Linked DNA regions of Homo sapiens: all the other regions are linked to region 2. The links are contacts of gene promoters, found by promoter capture Hi-C in blood cells and fetal thymus (Javierre and others, 2016). All regions are on one chromosome and are shown on one strand. Each heading gives the region's core, a stretch centred on a gene start or on the middle of the fragment in contact. The rest is flanking DNA. Distances are from core to core; before and after follow the strand shown. Region 1 holds the start of PSMD14 (proteasome 26S subunit, non-ATPase 14). Region 2 holds the start of DPP4 (dipeptidyl peptidase 4). Region 3 overlaps TANK-AS1 (TANK antisense RNA 1). Region 4 overlaps PSMD14 (proteasome 26S subunit, non-ATPase 14). Region 5 overlaps TANK (TRAF family member associated NFKB activator). Region 6 overlaps PSMD14-DT (PSMD14 divergent transcript).

Region 1 (3,150 bases), core at 84-2,583, 770 kb after region 2:
CTTTCTTCCCTTGGCAAGATTTAGGGACAAATTCAAGACAACATTTAGCCTTTTTCACTAAATAGCACTTCACTAAACACACCTTAACTGTAGTTAATTCAGAACCACTATATATCTTAACCTCTAAACTTCAAATGAGTCAGCTGGTAGGTAGCCTTACGTGACAGGAAGGCCACCATTATATTAATCATCTCCACTAAAACTGTGTTCATGTTTTTGTTATTTCTACAGTATCAGTGCATGTCTTGCTGCTTTTCTCAAACACATTAAGTCAGAAGCACTAAAAAAACACTTGTGACCAGTGGAACAAAATCACTTTCACACTATAACTCTATTTTATGCTCATTTTTAAACCCTTTCCCCTGCCTTTCCATAATATTTTATCAACTTATATTACCATTTATTTTCTCGAGAATTTTTCCTTCAGTCACTAGGTTTATAGACTCAAAAGTTTACATTCTTTTTCTTTTGACAGACACAGAGCTACATCCCCAGGAAAATTAAGTTGCAAGATGTAACATACGGTAGCAGATTTCTACTTTACTTAAAACGAGAAATGTAATCAATTTACCAACAATTACTCAATTAGTATGATATTGAAAGTAAGTTAACAGCCATAGTAGCACACTTTGTTTTTAAGATATTCAAGGTCCAAAAGCAGTGTATCTGCAGGACTTTTGTTTACTTTTTGGAGGGAGCTGAAAACCTAACACTAACAGAAAAAGGGTTAAGGCTTACAGGAAGGACAAGAGATAAAACAAACGTATTCAATGGGAAAGTTAATTCTACTCTCTCTCCCTTGTTTTCCCGGTCTGCTTTGAAAAACTTCAAAGCAGACCGGTTAACAACTATGGATAGAGCACAGACAAACAGGCCATAAACAAGGATTCTCTCTATATAGATGGAAGAGGTTCCCATGATGTGAATTCGGCCAAACAGAAAAGAATGGAGAAAGGAGGCGACATCCAGACCTGACCCTGCCAGAGAGCCCTGAGAGCAGGCGAAGAGAATGAAGGAGGCCGGGCTCCTCCCTCGCGGCCCAGGCCTCCTGTGGCAACTCAGCTGGGCAACGTGACTCAGGAAAGCACGGGGCTGGCGGCGGCCTAGCACGGCTGCCTCCCCAGACCTCCCAGGCCTGCCTTCTGGGTCTTACCTGAAGACGGGCGGGAGCCGGATGCCGCGATATGGACCCTTGTCTTGCCTCTGTGGTGACGCGAAGACAGAGGCAACAGCAGCAGCGGCGCACACCCGACGCGGCTCTGTCTGCAAACCGGCGATGAATCAGCCCGATTCCATTCAAAAGAGTTGCCCGGGCCTCCGCCGCGAAGCACTTCCGGGTTCACTAGTTTGCTTCGGCTTCCGTTCCCCGACGGCCAATTGGAGACGACGGAGAGTCAAGCGGATGTCCAGGAGGAGCTCTTGGGACAGACGGCGCGGGCGGCCCGGCGTCTCCTGTCTCTGGCAGGACTGTGAGGCGGCACTTAGCGCCCTGGTCGCTCGCGCCCCGCCGACGCCTCCTTTTTCTCTCCCTACCTCTGCGCTCTGCGGCCGCCGCTGAGATCTGGGACGGCGGCACATCCAGCCCGGGAGACGACTGGCTAGGAAATAGAACTGTTAGTATTTTGAAGCCCAGATCCCCTTTCGTTTTGGTGTTCACTACTATTATTGCCCTCCTCAAAAACTAAAAGGTTCATTTGAGCTAGATTTAACTTGGTTATCTGAGAAGAAAATTTTTTTAAAAGAGGGGGGATGGTGTGATTAGAGGGGACCGGTAAGACGCCCTTTTCTGTAAGTCCGCTTTATCCACCTCTTGTCATTATTGCTTTGCAAGGATTGGATTTCAGGGAAAACTAAGGTTTCCCAAATGTTCAAACCACCTATTTTAAGCCGAGTTTAGTTTACAGGGTTTAAAGAGTCATTTATTCACATTTCTCCATGTAATTATCGGCAATCACATTTTACTCATGATCTACTTTGTGCTAGGCTTTCAAAAAGCAAAGTTGCAGAAGATATACTTGACAAGTTGATATTACACTCTAGGTCTAGGTACAGTCTCTGTTTAAGGCAGCTTGTTTGCCACGTTCCTGTCACTTTCTCAAATATGTTCCAAATAACAAGCATCTTTAAAGCATTCCTAAATCGAGAATGGTGATGAATCTACTGGACAGAGGGTGAGGAAAGATTACAGCGCCTGGATCCAAACTGTGATTTGAGTAGCACAATTGCTTTAAGATATTAATACCTTTAAAAACACAAAGATTATTTTACTCATAGGTAATATTTGGATCCACATCTTTATGCTTCCCCCCCAAACCTATGCCTCTCTATTCATTTTTTATGGGAGGAGGGGGTGAGTAGCCCCGTCCTCCAAATAATTTTCCTAATCAGAAACTTAAGAGTATGAACACTTGCCTCTTTTTCATCTCTCCCCACTGTAGAAACCATGAAATGTGTAATCTCCATAACAGCTTTTCCAATCCACCACTTCCCCTTCTAAATACTCCCCACTTTGGCCTTAACTCAGACCTTCCTCACTTCTTTTTTATTTTATTTTATTTTATATGTATTTATTTATTAATGCATTTTTGAGTTAGGGTCTTGCTTTGTCACGCAGGCTGGAGTGCAGTGGCGCCATCTGGGCTCACTGCAACATCCCGTCCCCGGGCTCAGGCAACCCTCCCACTTCAGCCTCCTAGGTAGCTAGGGCTACAGGCGCTTGCCACCATGCCCAGTTAATTTTTATTTATGTTTTTATTTATTTTATTTTTTTAGTAGAGACAGGATTTCACCATGTTCCCCAGGCTACTTTTTTAGAATGCTCTTTGATCTTTCCGCCTTCGGTCTGATTCCTTTTAATCCATTCTCCACCTCACTGGTAAAAATTTTTGTGCTATATGTAGTCATGCTCCTTCTTTATTTAAAATTCCACTAGTGGCTCCCCATAACATTCATTATAAAGGTCAAAAAAAAAAAAAACCCTTAAACTTTGTTTGGAGCACCTTTTGCTCCAGCCATACTAAAGTATTTAGCTGGGGAATAAGATGTCCATAGGGCTTTGAAAAACGCTAACATATTCCTGAGACTGTAGAAGGTGCTTAGGGTGTGCATATGTCTAGGGTTATGTGAACACTCAAGATAGGCCTGAGAAGG
Region 2 (3,029 bases), core at 199-2,698:
AGCACAGGCTTAACTCTCCAGACTTCCTTCACCGAGGCTGATGTGGCTTACCAATGCTGAGTGAGCAAAATGCTGAGAGTGAAGGGCAGCACTGAGCCCCCTGTGGCACCATTCCCCGTAGTCCGTGTTAAATGGCCTCTCTTCACAGCATCAGTTCACAGGGTCCAGTAACACCATTGACTCATCTTCCTCAGCAGTTGGAAGAGGGAGGAGGAGAGTTAGTTTCAGCCTCTGGAGTTGGGGGTGAGTGAGGATACTGATGTATCACAAGCAACTAGTGGGCAAGGGGGAAAAGATGACTGAGTTCAAAAGCAATGCCTGGATTGGAAATAAAAGATGGAAAATTGCATTAATTCATAATCATGTGGTAATGCCCCATCGGACTCTGCATTCTTAATCTTTTACCTCTACTGACAGAGAGGCTTTGCTTTTCAGCTGCTGTGAACAAGCTGAAGAGGCCTTATCCTCTTATCTGCAAGAGTGGAAGTAATCACAGGGGGCCCTAAAGGCAAATGTTTACCTGTGTATTTTATCGTGAAAGTGCCAAGGGTCCAGACCTCACCTCTCTTGTCCCACTTTATCTCCAGTACCTAGAAGGGAGGCTGGCACATTGTAACCACTCAAACATCTGTGGATGACTGGAATAAATGGGAGGATGTAGGAATGAATGAACGAATGAATAATCCTTTAGGGAACAATAGAGAGCTGGGGGAGGGAGAAGCCATACCTGATCTTTTATTCTTCTCCAAAACCCTTGAAAAGACTATGAGAGGCCGCATAGAGTAGCCATTAAGACCTTGAACTCTTAATTTAGGATCTACAACTTCCTAGCTGAATGGCTTGGCCAAGTTATTTATTCTCTGTGTACAGTCTTCCTTCCTGTAAAACAAACACAGTAAATGCTTAGAGCAGCACCTGGGAAAAAGTCAAGTTCCACATAAGTGTTACTGTCATTATTTTTGTCATCTTGATGAGTGTGTAAGCCTGCAAGACAATCGGGAAATTCCCTAGGGAGGGTGAATCCAGATACTCAGCTTCCAAGGGCCATTCAAGAGGGAACAATCACCTTTTCTCTTTGCCTTTCATACTGCTTTAGACCCCTCACTGCTTCCTAACATAACTTTCACTGGCAAGAGACGGAGTCCTGGGTTTCAGTTCCAGTTGCCTGCGGTGGGCTGTGTGAGTTTGCCAAAGTCCCCTGCCCTCTCTGGGTCTCGGTTCCCTCGCCTGTCCACGTGAGGTTGGAGGAGCTGAACGCCGACGTCATTTTTAGCTAAGAGGGAGCAGGGTCCCCGAGTCGCCGGCCCAGGGTCTGCGCATCCGAGGCCGCGCGCCCTTTCCCCTCCCCCACGGCTCCTCCGGGCCCCGCACTCTGCGCCCCGGCTGCCGCCCAGCGCCCTACACCGCCCTCAGGGGGCCCTCGCGGGCTCCCCCCGGCCGGGATGCCAGTGCCCCGCGCCACGCGCGCCTGCTCCCGCGCCGCCTGCCCTGCAGCCTGCCCGCGGCGCCTTTATACCCAGCGGGCTCGGCGCTCACTAATGTTTAACTCGGGGCCGAAACTTGCCAGCGGCGAGTGACTCCACCGCCCGGAGCAGCGGTGCAGGACGCGCGTCTCCGCCGCCCGCGGTGACTTCTGCCTGCGCTCCTTCTCTGAACGCTCACTTCCGAGGAGACGCCGACGATGAAGGTGAGTGCCGCGCCACGTACGTCCCCGGGGCGAGCTGTGGGGACCTCTTCGCCAAACTCCCCAAATGGCCCAAAAGCTGGCGAAACCGGACCAGGGACTCCCCTTAGGCGGAAGCCCCAAGGCCACCCTCTGACAGGTGAAGGGACGTCCCAGAGCTCTCGCTTAGCTTTCGGACCCTGGCTTCTGCTAGGACCCTGGCGTCGAGCTTTGAATGTCCCGGAGAGCCACTCACAGAACGCACGCCCGAACCCGGGCAGGGGTAGAGAAACCAACGCTAATGTGCTCTGAAGGCACAAGTTCAAGGGCACCCGCCTTAGAGAACTCCAACTGGCGCACTCCAGACGCCACCCCCACCCCCAGCCCGCGGTCTCCCTCTTCTAACGCACTCCCACCTGCAAATCCTGCTGCCTCTGGAGCAGCCCCGACCCTCCTACGGAAACTGGGGCCACACGCTTCCCTCTAATTGGACTTGATCTGCTCGGCTTGCAGACACCGTGGAAGGTTCTTCTGGGACTGCTGGGTGCTGCTGCGCTTGTCACCATCATCACCGTGCCCGTGGTTCTGCTGAACAAAGGCAGTAAGTTTGAAACATTTGAAAAAGATAGGACAGTTGGAGCTCAGGTCAGGCTCCGTCTTACCACGCTAAGGGAAACGAGGGATTTTGCGTGGGGTTGGACCAGTGCCCCGAAGTGTAGCTGAGAAGGCTTCCCAGTTGTTGTTGCTGCTTGTAGAGCAGCAGCTGGATTCACTTCGCGGGGTCTTCAGTGTTTAGGCTGAAACTCTTGCGGCTTTCACGTCTTGTTATGTATAATAAATGCATGCTTCCTGAAATTAGGGAGAGTCGGGATTTTTAAAATTTCAATTTTAAATTTAATTTGTAAATTTTTAAATTTACATGTAATTTTTGAGAAAAGTTTTTGGGTGTGATCGAAAAAGGAAAAAAGGCAGTGTTTAAAGAGCCCAAAGACAGCAGTAAGGATATCTGAAATGGAAAGGAAAAATGAGAAAGCAAGCCCCAAAATACAGTTTTGAGAAATGATGTTCCACAGGGAACCCAGACTGTTTTCCCTCAAGGGTGGTGAGAATTCAGTTGGAGGGTGGGGAGGCAGGGAAGTAATTGACCAATTTAGCAGTATTGCAGAGCTAAATAATAAAGCTGGTATACACGATAATATTTAAGAAGGGTCTGGAATCAGTGATGTTTTGGTGGATTCTTTTATTTAAGGACTTTCATGTCTTTTTAGCTTGCCTAAATGTATAAAACACTCACATAATGGAATACTCACTGTAGGATGCAAGCAAGTGAGAACTACTAGTTTCAGTCTCCCCTGGCCTTACTTTC
Region 3 (3,149 bases), core at 383-2,882, 920 kb after region 2:
TTTTACTCATTTTCTAATCTATATATAGAAATAAGAAAATTACAGGATCTCATTCTAATAATTGAAGATGTATCATTTTAGTTTTTTTAATATGAAGATAAATAACTACAAGTAGAATTTAAAAGTGTACGCTTGTTTTTGGCTGCACATTGTAGCTCACACCTGTAATCCCATCACTTTGAGAGGCCAAGGCAGGCAGATCACTTGAGGCCAGGAGTTCGAGACCAGCCTGGCCAACATGGAGAAAATTCATCTCTACTAAAAGTACAAAAATTAGCCAGGTGTTGTGGTACACGTCTGTAATCCCAGCTACTCAGGAAGCTGAGGCACAAGAATCATTTGCACCTGGGAGGCGGAGGTTGCAGTGACCTGAGATGGCACCACTGTACTCCAGCCTGGGCAACAGAGTGAGACTCTGTCTCAAAAAAAAAAAAAAAGTGTATGCTTAATTTTTATGTTAATAGAGGAAGAAAGAAATTAAAACATTGTCCACATAATAAAGATTTAAATATCTTAATTCCCAACATTCAATCAGTCACCCAATCAGGTACATCATGTGAGTACTCCTCTGCAGTATTTCTTGCATGCTTACACTCTATGTCCCCATTGCTACTATCTATCTCCATTCCTACCCGTTGTTCAAGCCACCATCAACTCATAGTTTCAATGCTAACCTCCTAATTGTTTGCCTCACTTTCTCCCTTGTCAGATTCTATGTTGTTATGTTTCTTTACCACCTACAACTATTAAATGTCTTCCCCTCACCTTTAGAATAAAATCCAAAATCTTAATCCTGGAATAAGGCATCTTCCTAACTCTCCAGACTTATGTCCTGCTGCTTCTTCCTGGTGATTTTGGGCTTCTTTTAATACCTTAAGTGATCACTCTTTTGTCCTTTTCAGGTATTTGCTGCTTTCCTCAGCCTAGAACATGTTTTCCTCATATTTTACCTGGTCTGTTGAGTCCTCTACTGAATGATCTGATTCTAAGCTAGGCCACACTTGATTTCCTTTCTAGGTTAAGACTGTGGGCTTAGCTGTGGGCTCCTATTTTACCCTGTCCTTTCCTCTTTATGACATGCATTATGCTTGAAATTTCAAGATACATATTTGAATGTTTTTAAGCTTAGGATGGCCATTATGACTGATATTAGAGAAACTTATACTCACTAGGCAGAGTCCTAGGTTATCATTGCCCCCACGAAGGCAAACTACAGCTGAGAGAAGCTAAAGCATGATGATTGTAAGTGAGAGTTCTGTGTTAAAGTTGCCTCGTTCATATGTTGGTATTGCCATTTACTAATCATATGACTTTACTAATCCTGTGCCTCAGTTTCTTTTCCTGTCAAAGGTCGAGTGTACTTGTCCAACAAAATAATGTATGAACAAGATCTGGCCTACAGGAGGACTGCAGTAAATATTGGGTAATATAGAAAATTCCTGTAACTTAGTAGGTGGTTCTACATGCAGTTGATTTTTTTTTTTTTTTTTTTTTTTTGAGACAGGGCCTCACTGTTGTCACCCAGGCTGGAGTGCAGGGCAGGATCTTGGCTCATTGCAGCCTTGACTTCCTGGGCTCATGTGATTCTACCACCTTATGCTCCTGAGTAGCTGGGACTACAGACGTGCACCATCATGCCTGGCTAATTTTTGTATTTTTTGTAGAGACAGGGTTTCACCATGTTGCCCAGGCTGGTATTAAACTCCTGAGCTCAAGAGATCCATCTGCCTCTGCTTCCCAAAGTGCTGGGATTACAGGTGTGAATAGGGATCACACCCAGCCTGATTTTTAATTTAAATAAAAAGTCATAATTATCACTTAAAATGTCTTTAAAAGTTCATACTGAGAAGGCCTCTATATTGGACTTAATAGAAAAAGACTTTCAATCAGTTGCCTTAAATATGCCCGAAGAACTAAAGAAAACCATGGACAAAGAACTAAAAGAAATCAGGAAAATGATTTATGAACAAAAGGAGAATATAAAAACATGATATAAATTATAAAACAGAACCAAATAGTAATTCTGGAGCTGAATGGCACAATAACAAATGGAAAATTAATTATAGGGGTTCAATAGCAGATTTCAGCAAGCAGAAGAAAGAGTCAGAGAATGTGATAAGATAGTTAACATCAAGCTTACCTTCTATGCATTGTGGGAGTCTTGAAGGAGAAATGAGAGAAATGAAGCAGAAAAAATATTTCAAGAAATAATGGCTGAAAACTTCCCAATTTGCTAAAAGTCTGAACCAGCTTATTCAAGTTGCTCAATGAACTCTAAGTAGAATAGACTCAAAAAAATCCACACTGAGGCATTATAATCAAATTATCCTTTAGCTCTTTGGGCATATTTAAGACAATTGACTGAAAGTCTTTTTCTAGTAAGTCCAATATCTAGACCTTCTCAGTGTGAATTTTTAGACATTTTAAGTTATAATTATGGCTAATTATTTAAATTAAAAATCAAATGCATGTAGAATCACCCACTAAATAACAGGAATCATTTATATTACCCAGTATTTATTGAGTTCCTTCTGTAGGCCAGGTCCTGTTCATATATTATTTCATTGTACAGATACTCTCAATTTTTGAGGCAATTTTTGAACTGAGGACAAAGAGAGAATATTGAAAGCAGCAAGAAAGAAGTGACACATTATGTGCAAGGGATCATCAATAAGATTAACAGCCAATTTTGCTTTGAAACTATGAAGGCCAGAAAATAGTAGAATGACATATATAAAGTGCTAGAAAAAAGTGTAAACCAACAATTCTATAAATGGCAAGACTATCCTTCAAAAATAAAGAAGAAATTAAGACATTTTGAGATAAATGAAAGCAGAAGGAGCTTGGTGTTAGTAGACTTACCCTAAAGAAATGATAAAGGGAGTACTTCAGGCTGACTACTAGGAGATAATTTGAGGCCATACAAAGAAATAAAGAACTTCAGTAAAGACAACTACATAGGTAAATATATTAAAGCTAGGATAATTGTATTTTGGTTTGTAACTCCTCTTTTTATTTCCTATATGATTTAAAAGACAAATCCTTAAAAATAATTATCAATCTGGCACACAACTTATAAAGATATAATTTGTGACAACAACACGTAAGGGGTGATTAAGCTGCTTAGTAGTGGAGTGTTTGTATGTTAC
Region 4 (3,162 bases), core at 30-2,529, 690 kb after region 2:
AACTGCCCCCATATCTAACTCTGACAACATCAAGTGTTCAAATGAGGTTCAACAGTACTCTGGTGGACCTAAAGGATCCTCTGGCAGCCTAGAAAAACATGAAAGTCAGAAATAAACCTTTAGGGATATTTTTAACAAGTATAAAAACAAAAAGGACTTTGGGGTTAACCCTCAGGAATCTAAAGAGAAAAACTAACCAAAATAACCACCACTTCTCTAACTAATAGACTTTTACAATGTAGGTCTTAAGATGTCACTGAGGTAGAGGAAGAAGGGGTAAAGAAGAGAACATTTAATGAGCAGCTAGTATCTGCTTTACACATTACATCTTCTAATCTTCATAGTACTGTAAGGTAGGGCAATTCAATTTGTATTTTGACAGATGAAAATAAAATGCAGGGTCGGGCTCAGTGGCTCAAGCCTGTAATCCCAGCACTCTGGGAGGCTGAGGCAGGAGAATCACTTAAGCCCAAGAGTTCAAGACCAGCCTGGACAACATAGCAATACCCCATCTCTAAAAAAAAAAAAAAAAAAAAAAACAACAAAAAAGAAAGAAAATAAGACACAAATATTAATTTGTCCAAGTTTCTAGCTAGTAAAAGGCTAGATGGGGATCTGAACCTAGGTCATTCTGATTCCATAGCCTATGTTCTTTCTAACATACTATGCCACAATACATGTCAGGAAATTCTTGGATTAAGTCTATTTACTTTAAGGATCAGGATGAAACAAAGCATTATGTTAATTTTTAAGCTTTGCTAGCAAAAATCACTCCAATGAGTATTAAAATATTTTAGATGAGTACTTTAACAATAGATTCTTATTTTACCAATGTCTGTTATAAAAGTGAGCTATGAAATTCCATAGGGAGCAGTGACTGATTGTAAAGTACCAAGAGTGTATATTAAATCCTTACTCATTTCAATAATCATCAGAAGCAATGAATTAAATTTTAGTGCATAAAAATGCTATACTGTACAGATCAAAAAGTAGAAATGATCAGGGCTTCCTTTAATCTGTGCTCATATTCGTGTACATTAGGAGGTGAATCAGCCTGGTAGAGAATTAGAAAAAGGTGCTCAGTCCTCTAAGCAGACATAGTCTGGCGTAGAGAGTGGAGCTTGAGCTGGAAGCTCCCTCATCCAAGCACATTTGCGCGATGCACTCACTACTTGCACAACCCTACATGGTGGTCATAAAGCTAGTAACTGCTGTAGCCAATACATACAGAAGCCAGTTAATGGACTCACAGATACTAGGCCCTATATTTTTGAGACTAACTGTACTAATGAAATATTAACTGGTGTCTGAAGGCACAATCTACTTGATTTTCAATTACATTATATAGATAAAAGCATTAAAACTAACACAGACAGCATGAAAGATCAGCAGGTATAACAATAACAAAACAAAGGTAAGTTTAAATCAAATGATATCCTCAAGTAGTCTTTCAATTTCACTTACTCACCTGCTGTGTGCCCCCAGTGCCTTCCTCCCAAATCATAAGTCAACCGGCCATGTCCTTTTTGGGTTCATGTAGAACTACACAAGACCAACTGACTTATGATTTTACCTCTATGCACTCACTGCTGTGGAAAAGCAGGTGCATTATAAAACACACGGCTTACGGATTATATATAAGCTATTCATGGGTTCCTGATAAGTTTTTAAAAGTTTTCATGCTCCTTAAAAAGGTGTGCTTGGATCTAAAGACAAATTTGTTTGCCTTAATTTATTTTATATTGATAAACTGAAAATACGGTGGTAACTGATATCCTTTAAATCACGTTCTAAAATGAAGCTTTTTGAATATAAATAGAATAACTGAAAAGAAACAAAATGTGTTTTGTGGTTCCCTCTAGAGTGGAGAACTGAGTTGCAGAAGGCAAAAGAGGAAGGGAGAGTTTTTGCTAAATGACTTTGTACTTTAAATTTTTTTAACTGTATATATATTTTCTATGCCAAAATTAATTAATTAAATTTCCAATGATAATATAAAAGAATGAAGCAGTCTGGTTATGAGTACTAGTTCCTACATTACCTCACTGGATTACCTGGGCAACTCAACTTTATGGGCCTCAGGTTTCCTCATGTACTAAATGACTACAATGGCTCCTTTCTAGTGCAATTGTTTTATAACTTATATGTTCAGTAATTACTGAAACAATGTTTTCCAAATAGCTTAACTCTATTAAACAATGCAACTGTACTCAAGACTATACTTAGAGGCTCTTAGCCTTAGCACATGCATCTATGCATCAATATTTAGTAAATTTCCATGAGACTGACTACCAATCTTCAAATTTACTGTGACACTTAAGAATCCAAAATGTCACTGAACAGTTTATAATGGAATAGTTTAAAAAATTTAGTTACTAAAATAAATGCTTGTTAACTCTCAATTCTAAACATTTGAAAGTAATAGCCAAATGTTCCAAGTGCAAAATAAAAATAATATACATTATCATATATTAATATAAAAGCCTAGAGGATAGGCATTATACTTTCTCCTCTCTATCAGGATTATTAGTGGCTTCTATTATATAAAACATGAACGTGAAAATAACCTTTGTCTCTTAGCTTATTTCAACACTGTCAAGTAGTACTTTAAAAAATAACATTTTCTAAAAGCAATATATGTTTCACTGTAAAAAAATTTAAGAAATATGGACAAGGAAAGACAAAAAAATCTCATAATTCTACCATCCAAAGGTAACCAATGCTAATATCCTGGTATAAATATATAGGCACCATCTATAAAATATACACTTGCAGAATGGAGAACTGATATATTCTGTTTTATAATCTTTTCTTACTTAACATATTTGAACTTTCCCCAAGTTATTAAATAGCAGTCTACAGTGAATCATAATTTTTCTCTACTACTAAGTATAAGAGTAAAAAAAAATCTGTTAGAAAATCATTAGTGACCACCAGCATGTGAGCTGATGGCTGTTATCAGACTTTTATCCCTACTACTTGAAAGCTGGTTTAGGAGCAAGGCCCCTCTTAACACCAGCTAACTCCCCCTTCAAAATAAAAGGCATGGCATTTCTGAAAGGTTTCTGATCCCAGAGTTAAAGATCCTGCTAACATAAAATAAAATTCCATTACAGATATTACCATTCCCTTCAGGCTCTTCTGGGTTGCTTTCTAGCTTGT
Region 5 (2,859 bases), core at 271-2,770, 840 kb after region 2:
GAAAATCACATAGAACAATAATAATCTGATATACTTTAGTCTTGGTTATGATAGCTGAATATATAAAATAGATGTTTAGTAGTAATGATTGATAGAAAGTAAAATTTTGAAATATGTAGCCAAAAATTTCACTTGTCTTTGCTACTATCTACAAACAACTCAGGATTTTTTTAAAAAAAAAATTATTATTATTATTTTGAGACAGGGTCTTGCTCTGTCACCCAGGCTGGAGTGTGATGGCACCATCACAGCTCACTGCAACCTCGAACTACCTAGCTCAAGCAATCCTCCCACCTCAGCTTCCCAAGTAGCTGGAGGCCACAGGCACAAGCCACCACACCCAGCTACATATATCTATATAACTATACGTATTTGTAGAGACAAGGTCTTACTATGTTGCCCAGGCTGGTCTCAAATTCCTAGGCTTAATCAATCCTCCTGCCTCAGCCTCCCAAAGTGCTGGGATTATAGGCATGAACCACCGTACCTGGCCCAACTCAGGAATTTTGTACTTATACTAGCTTTGTACTTATACTAGCTTGCATAATACTAGCTTTATTAATACTAATAAAATAGCTTAAAAGGTTTTTTTTAAAAAACTCATTTTAAGAAATATTCTTTCCATCCTAAACTGTAACATGGTCTTCAAAACAAACTAATTTCTTTGCTTTTTCTGCCAAAATATCAATTATCTAACCTTATGCCCCATGTCTTGTGACAACTCAACACTAATTCTCCTGAATTTTTTAAGCTGAATACTTTTCCATCAAGTTGTAATCACATACCAGCTGTTTCCCTTGCTGTAGTATAGAAAGCAAATGTACAATGCAGGGTGCCATCTACTGAAACATGAATGCACAGACTAGTAAAAGAACAAGCAAGACATATAATAGAGAAAAAAGTAACAAGCATTAGAACTGATGCACTTCACAGCTCCACAGGAATTCTACTTGCAATAAATGAAATTGTTTAATTTGTTTCATTTAGTAGCAACTATAACTGAGACTATGATGTGAAATAAAGTACAATGAACAAGAACATAAGTGAGGTTATAATTAAAACTTATTGTCAGCCATGCCTAGTTCTTCCCACTACTAAAATATACCACAGCTTGACAACTGCCTTCTTTGCGTGCTGATTTAAGTCTATAACCTATATGTGTACTTAAAGCAAAAGGGTATTAATAACTTTTTTAAAAAAATTAAATATCTCAAGGCAAAGAGAAATCAGACAAATGTTTGCAAGTTACATAGACATTTACATCAATCTGTATTTTCATAAGCTTCTGTTTTTTGTAAAAATTATATAGTTTTCATTTGCTTTCAGACATTAAACTTTTTTTTAACTAAAAGAATCATTCTGTGATAGAATTTGAATCTAAAAGGGAGGGCAGGAGTGGTTTGGGGGATATTAGTCTGTGAGCTTTAGAAACATTAAATAAAATATTTGATATCATACACATGCAGAGACTATTTAAAAAATATACTAGGCTACATGTTCATTTCCAGATTAGCAACCAAAACCAAACTAAACCCTACAGATCTGTGTACTATATAACTGAAGATGTAGTAGAAGTATTCACTGAAAGATAGTTCACTTATTTTGATAAATAGAAATGTAAGATGCAATTATTTACTTATGAAAGATCTTGAATTCTTATAAAGATGAATATGATATACACAAACTATTAAATAAAACAGCATTTGTTTCACACTATGAAATTTAATATTCTTATTAATCCTGAGTAAACAAGCTTTGAATAAGGAACTAAGAAAGTGACACCACGACAGATATGGATAAGGCTTAACATGTATTTTTAAATCTGACATAAATTCTAAGGTACTTTCCAATAAAGTTTTACCATATTCAGCTTTTCTAATTTCATGTCATTTATTATGGGACTTGTTTTTTTGAAAGCCTTAACTTTGGCTGTCAGTAGTTTAAAAAGGATGTTTGATAACGTAAAAGAGATGCATATCTGTGCATGTATGGCAAAATGTGTGTTCACACATAATAATATATTTGTTAATGCAAAACAGTTACCTGCTGTGGTCCTCGGATTGCTTTTCCCGGGGAATCGAGTGAGGGAAAAGGTGCATCAGATGGGTCCAGAAGTGGGAAGCTATTTACATATAATGCATTATGGTCTCCAGGTGGCAAACACGCAGCTCTATCCAGAGTTGTCCTGATACAAGTGTTTACGAGATTTGAGGGCTTTGTTTTGTCAGTTGTTTTAAGGTTTTGTATAGCTGAAGCTATGGGGTCAATTCCCTGAATTTCAAATAAAGTTTCTTCTGTTTTAACAAAGTTCCCTGGGTTGTCTCTGAACTCCATATTAAATTTCTCTTGGCACACTGCCTCAGACGTGGCAGGACTAAGGATGCCGGGTCTCTCTGGAGTGCTATGTAAGAAAGTTGAGTCATTGTCCATAGGTGGAAACTTGACATTGAATTTAGAAAGTGATTCAAAAGAGGTGTCTTCCTCATCTCTGCACAGTCCTCTTGGTGTGACAGATGTGATGGATGGTGCACCTCTATTTATATCATCTTTAGCCTGAGGCTTAAACAGCGCTTCTTGTTTATCTGTTTTATCCGTACACTGTATAGGCACAGAGCACTGTGTTTCTGGAGGGAGAAGAACACAAAAGAGAAACAGCCGCATTCAAATCATTAAAAAAATCTGTTCAATCAGCTTTGGAGAGATTATTATTATTTTTTCTATTGGTTTTTATAGCAAATGAAGACAACTGGGATTTTAAAATTTGCTACCATCTTACACAGAATATTAGCAGTCTCCAGCGGGTGAACTGAAACATAGCTTATTAGTCGCAATTTAACTACTTTGTCTTTTCCTAAGTCT
Region 6 (2,814 bases), core at 208-2,707, 820 kb after region 2:
CTCATAAAAAAATCCTTTTTGACCCTAAAATTCCCCTTTTAGAAATTTATCTGGAGGAAGTAATTATAAATGTATGCAAATATTTGTCCACAGAGATGTTCACATAACATTGTTTATGATATAGAAAAATTAGCAATTATTGGCCGGGCATGGTGGCTCACGCCTGTAATCCCAGCACTTTGGGAGGCCTAGGTGGGTGGATCATTTGAGGTCAAGAGTTCGAGACCACCCTGGCCAACATAGTGAAACCCCATCTCTACTAAAATATACAAAAATTAGCCGGGCATGGTGGCACATGCCTATAGTCCCAGCTACTCAGGAGGTTGAGGCAGGAGAATCGCTTGAACCCAGGAGGTGGAAGCTGCAGTGAGACGAGATTGTACCACTGCACTCCAGCCTGGGTGACAGAGTGAGACTCTATCTCAAAAAAAGGAAAAATTAGCAATTACCAAATACATAGTGTTAGAGAACTTGTTAGACAAACTATGGTGCATTTATACTATGGAATACTATAGTTAGTATTTAATGACATGGGAAAATGTGATATATTTTAAGGGAAGTGTCACTCATCAATGAGTAATGTCATATATCCTAATTATTTTTAATACTTACTAGTGCATAAAAATATGTATAAGAGGCCAGGCACAGTGGCTCACGCCTGTAATCCCAGCCCTTTTGGAGGCCGAGGCGGGCGCATCACGAGGTCAGGAGATTGAGACCATCCTTCCTAACATAGTGAAACCCCGTCTCTACTAAAAATACAAAAAATTAGCCGGGCGTGGTGGCACGCGGCTGTACACAATGAACATGTATTACTTTTGTAATCGGAAATAATGTTATAAAAATGAAATACTTTTAAAAAGCATTTATGATACAGATATTGTTATTTATGTTTTTCCTCAAGTGATTAGTTGCTCTGCCTTATTTTGGCCAAGTTCCAGGTAAGCTTCTGGGCACTTTATTGAAAAAAATAAATCAAGTAAATCATTAGACTAAAATTATATATTGATTTTGCAAAAGTAGCAGTATTTTGCTGGACAAAGTCACAGAGCTAAAATATATGATATTTTCATTTTTAACAATGAAACGACTATTATAATTAAAAGAATTCAGTTTGCATTATATGCCTTTAAATAAAGATTAAATGGACCCCTGACACACCAAATTAATATGTAATCCAGTTTCATTTTTTAACTAATGGAAACACAAATTAGTATAATTTTATAATTTAATACTCAGCAATAGATCATTTTTTAAAATAGAAGAAATTAAACATTTTTCCACATACCATCCTTAGGGAACAAGGCATATCATAAGATATGACAAATAAGCTTCTAGGAAAAGTCTTCATTTGTTCTTTCCAGAAAATGTGAATTTGCTAATTTGGTGACAAATATATGTATACATATTATATGTAATAAAATTATACTGAAAATAAAATCAATGAAATATTGAAATTTTAAGTGCAAAGCATCTGGTTAAAACTGCCTACTCTTGCTTATATATCCTTTTTTATTTGCTATTTATATTAGCAAAATGAACTTAACATAATGCCTCAAATAGTTAATGAATATAAAGCTTTAAAACAGTAAATATGTATTGTACATGATCTTTTGGAATCTGATTTCAGGTACAACTAATTTGACAGGCAGTATGATAAGGAACAATCTGAATGACACGTAAACAGGAGGGGGTAAATTCCAAGCACAGCCTGAATGAGAAGTACAACTCATTTCCTGTAACCTAGATGCCTTTTTAACACATCTATGCAGTCTCCATGTGAAACCAGGTGCTGTTCCCAAAGGAGAAAACACTGCCCTCCAGTGGTCTTCAATGAAGAAATGGAAATAGTTTCAGGTACCATGATAGCAGCATTTACATGAAACATGGTATATTTATCTAGTCTCATTTTTGGCTGTATTTCTTAAGCTGAAACACGTCTACAACTGAGCATAAGGACAAAATTTCCAAGATAAATTCTAATAGGTAGGTAGTTACTCCAGTTAGATAGACATATTAACAAGGAGGATTATGACTTTCTAACCCCAAAAGCTGACCATTTATTCGACTATCAAAATTGGATTATGTTAGCCACCTATAGTTTCTCACTTTCCAGATAAGAAAGAAGATATTTCATCTCTGTGTTTCCCTTGTTGGCCAATTTTTTAGCTAAAAGACATTTAAAATTGTACAGCAGGCAGAACCCCAGGGGACTGAACAGTGTTCCAACATCCTTAAAGGCTTCCCATCACTTGAAAAACCAAATTCTTCCTCCTGTTTCTTAAACTAACCAAAGTAGGCAAAAGCAATTTTTAAAAGTCTTTGTGTCTAGCATTGGAACTTTCTCATATTTCACACCATTATATAAATGTCACTCTAACCTATATGTATCACAAATGCTACGCTAAATTAGGGCCAAATTTGCAACCTAGTTTAACTGGGTTTCCTCTTTTTGCAAATGCAGTTTTTGTGTCTGCATTTAGCAATGCATACAAAACTGTCCGTGTAGCTAACTGCTTCAAATTGCTAAATTTGAGGATGGATGTGTAGAGTCTTTATGTATGTGCCAAAGCAATCCTGTTTCTAGTCATATAAAGACTTCCTAATCAAATGGACCTTGACTACATTGCTAAATTCTTGGACCACTTCACTTACTCTTTTGGATTTAGTAAAGGAAAAACTGAATTTTAAGAGGGGAAAGAGACAGTTTTCAAACCTCCTCCATGTCTCTGTCCTTCAGAAACCAGAATGGAACTACATCACATGATCAGATGGACTCTAGAGTCCCACAGCTATAAAGCCTCATCCATTACA

What was found. The method cuts DNA at HindIII sites, captures the fragments that hold promoters and counts their contacts. A CHiCAGO score of 5 or more calls a contact.
Region 1: the fragment with the promoter of PSMD14 here is called in contact with the fragment with the promoter of DPP4 in region 2 in 6 of 17 cell types (activated CD4 T cells, naive CD8 T cells, naive CD4 T cells and 3 more); the score reaches 9.8 in activated CD4 T cells.
Region 3: a contact is called between a fragment that was not itself captured here and the fragment with the promoter of DPP4 in region 2, in 1 of 17 cell types (non-activated CD4 T cells). The highest score is 6.2, in non-activated CD4 T cells.
Region 4: a fragment that was not itself captured here is called in contact with the fragment with the promoter of DPP4 in region 2 in 1 of 17 cell types (naive CD8 T cells); the score reaches 5.2 in naive CD8 T cells.
Region 5: a fragment that was not itself captured here is called in contact with the fragment with the promoter of DPP4 in region 2 in 2 of 17 cell types (total CD4 T cells and fetal thymus); the score reaches 5.9 in total CD4 T cells.
Region 6: a contact is called between a fragment that was not itself captured here and the fragment with the promoter of DPP4 in region 2, in 2 of 17 cell types (naive CD8 T cells and naive CD4 T cells). The highest score is 5.3, in naive CD8 T cells.

Annotation. Positions count from the first base shown.
Region 1 is chr2:161,306,608-161,309,757 of GRCh38, reverse strand. PSMD14 (proteasome 26S subunit, non-ATPase 14) reads right to left here and starts at 1,333. Exons shown (of 12, transcript NM_005805.6): 1 at 1,154-1,333. RefSeq lists an enhancer at 1,006-1,465. The HindIII fragment of the contact is 7,205 bases long and covers 1-3,150 here.
Region 2 is chr2:162,072,634-162,075,662 of GRCh38, reverse strand. DPP4 (dipeptidyl peptidase 4) reads left to right here and starts at 1,448. Exons shown (of 26, transcript NM_001935.4): 1 at 1,448-1,687; 2 at 2,177-2,264. The coding sequence starts at 1,682. It overlaps DPP4-DT (DPP4 divergent transcript), which reads right to left and starts at 806. Exons shown (of 3, transcript NR_147697.1): 1 at 728-806; 2 at 52-185. RefSeq lists a promoter at 1-1,043, enhancers at 598-1,295, 1,730-1,929 and a silencer at 1,320-1,579. The HindIII fragment of the contact is 4,875 bases long and covers 1-3,029 here.
Region 3 is chr2:161,152,036-161,155,184 of GRCh38, reverse strand. All of the region lies in intron 2 of TANK-AS1 (TANK antisense RNA 1), which reads left to right. It also overlaps a transcript of TANK not described here. Among named protein-coding and RNA genes, the nearest start is that of TANK-AS1, 6.7 kb to the left of the region's middle. The HindIII fragment of the contact is 1,011 bases long and covers 1,127-2,137 here.
Region 4 is chr2:161,387,267-161,390,428 of GRCh38, reverse strand. All of the region lies in intron 8 of PSMD14 (proteasome 26S subunit, non-ATPase 14), which reads right to left. Among named protein-coding and RNA genes, the nearest start is that of TBR1, 27 kb to the left of the region's middle. The HindIII fragment of the contact is 1,048 bases long and covers 756-1,803 here.
Region 5 is chr2:161,230,736-161,233,594 of GRCh38, reverse strand. TANK (TRAF family member associated NFKB activator) reads right to left here. Exons shown (of 8, transcript NM_001199135.3): 7 at 2,044-2,624. The region is part of intron 3 of PSMD14-DT (PSMD14 divergent transcript); the gene reads left to right. Among named protein-coding and RNA genes, the nearest start is that of LINC01806, 13 kb to the left of the region's middle. The HindIII fragment of the contact is 471 bases long and covers 1,285-1,755 here.
Region 6 is chr2:161,250,039-161,252,852 of GRCh38, reverse strand. It overlaps PSMD14-DT (PSMD14 divergent transcript), which reads left to right. Exons shown (of 4, transcript NR_110593.1): 2 at 1,631-1,857. Among named protein-coding and RNA genes, the nearest start is that of PSMD14-DT, 3.2 kb to the left of the region's middle. The HindIII fragment of the contact is 247 bases long and covers 1,334-1,580 here.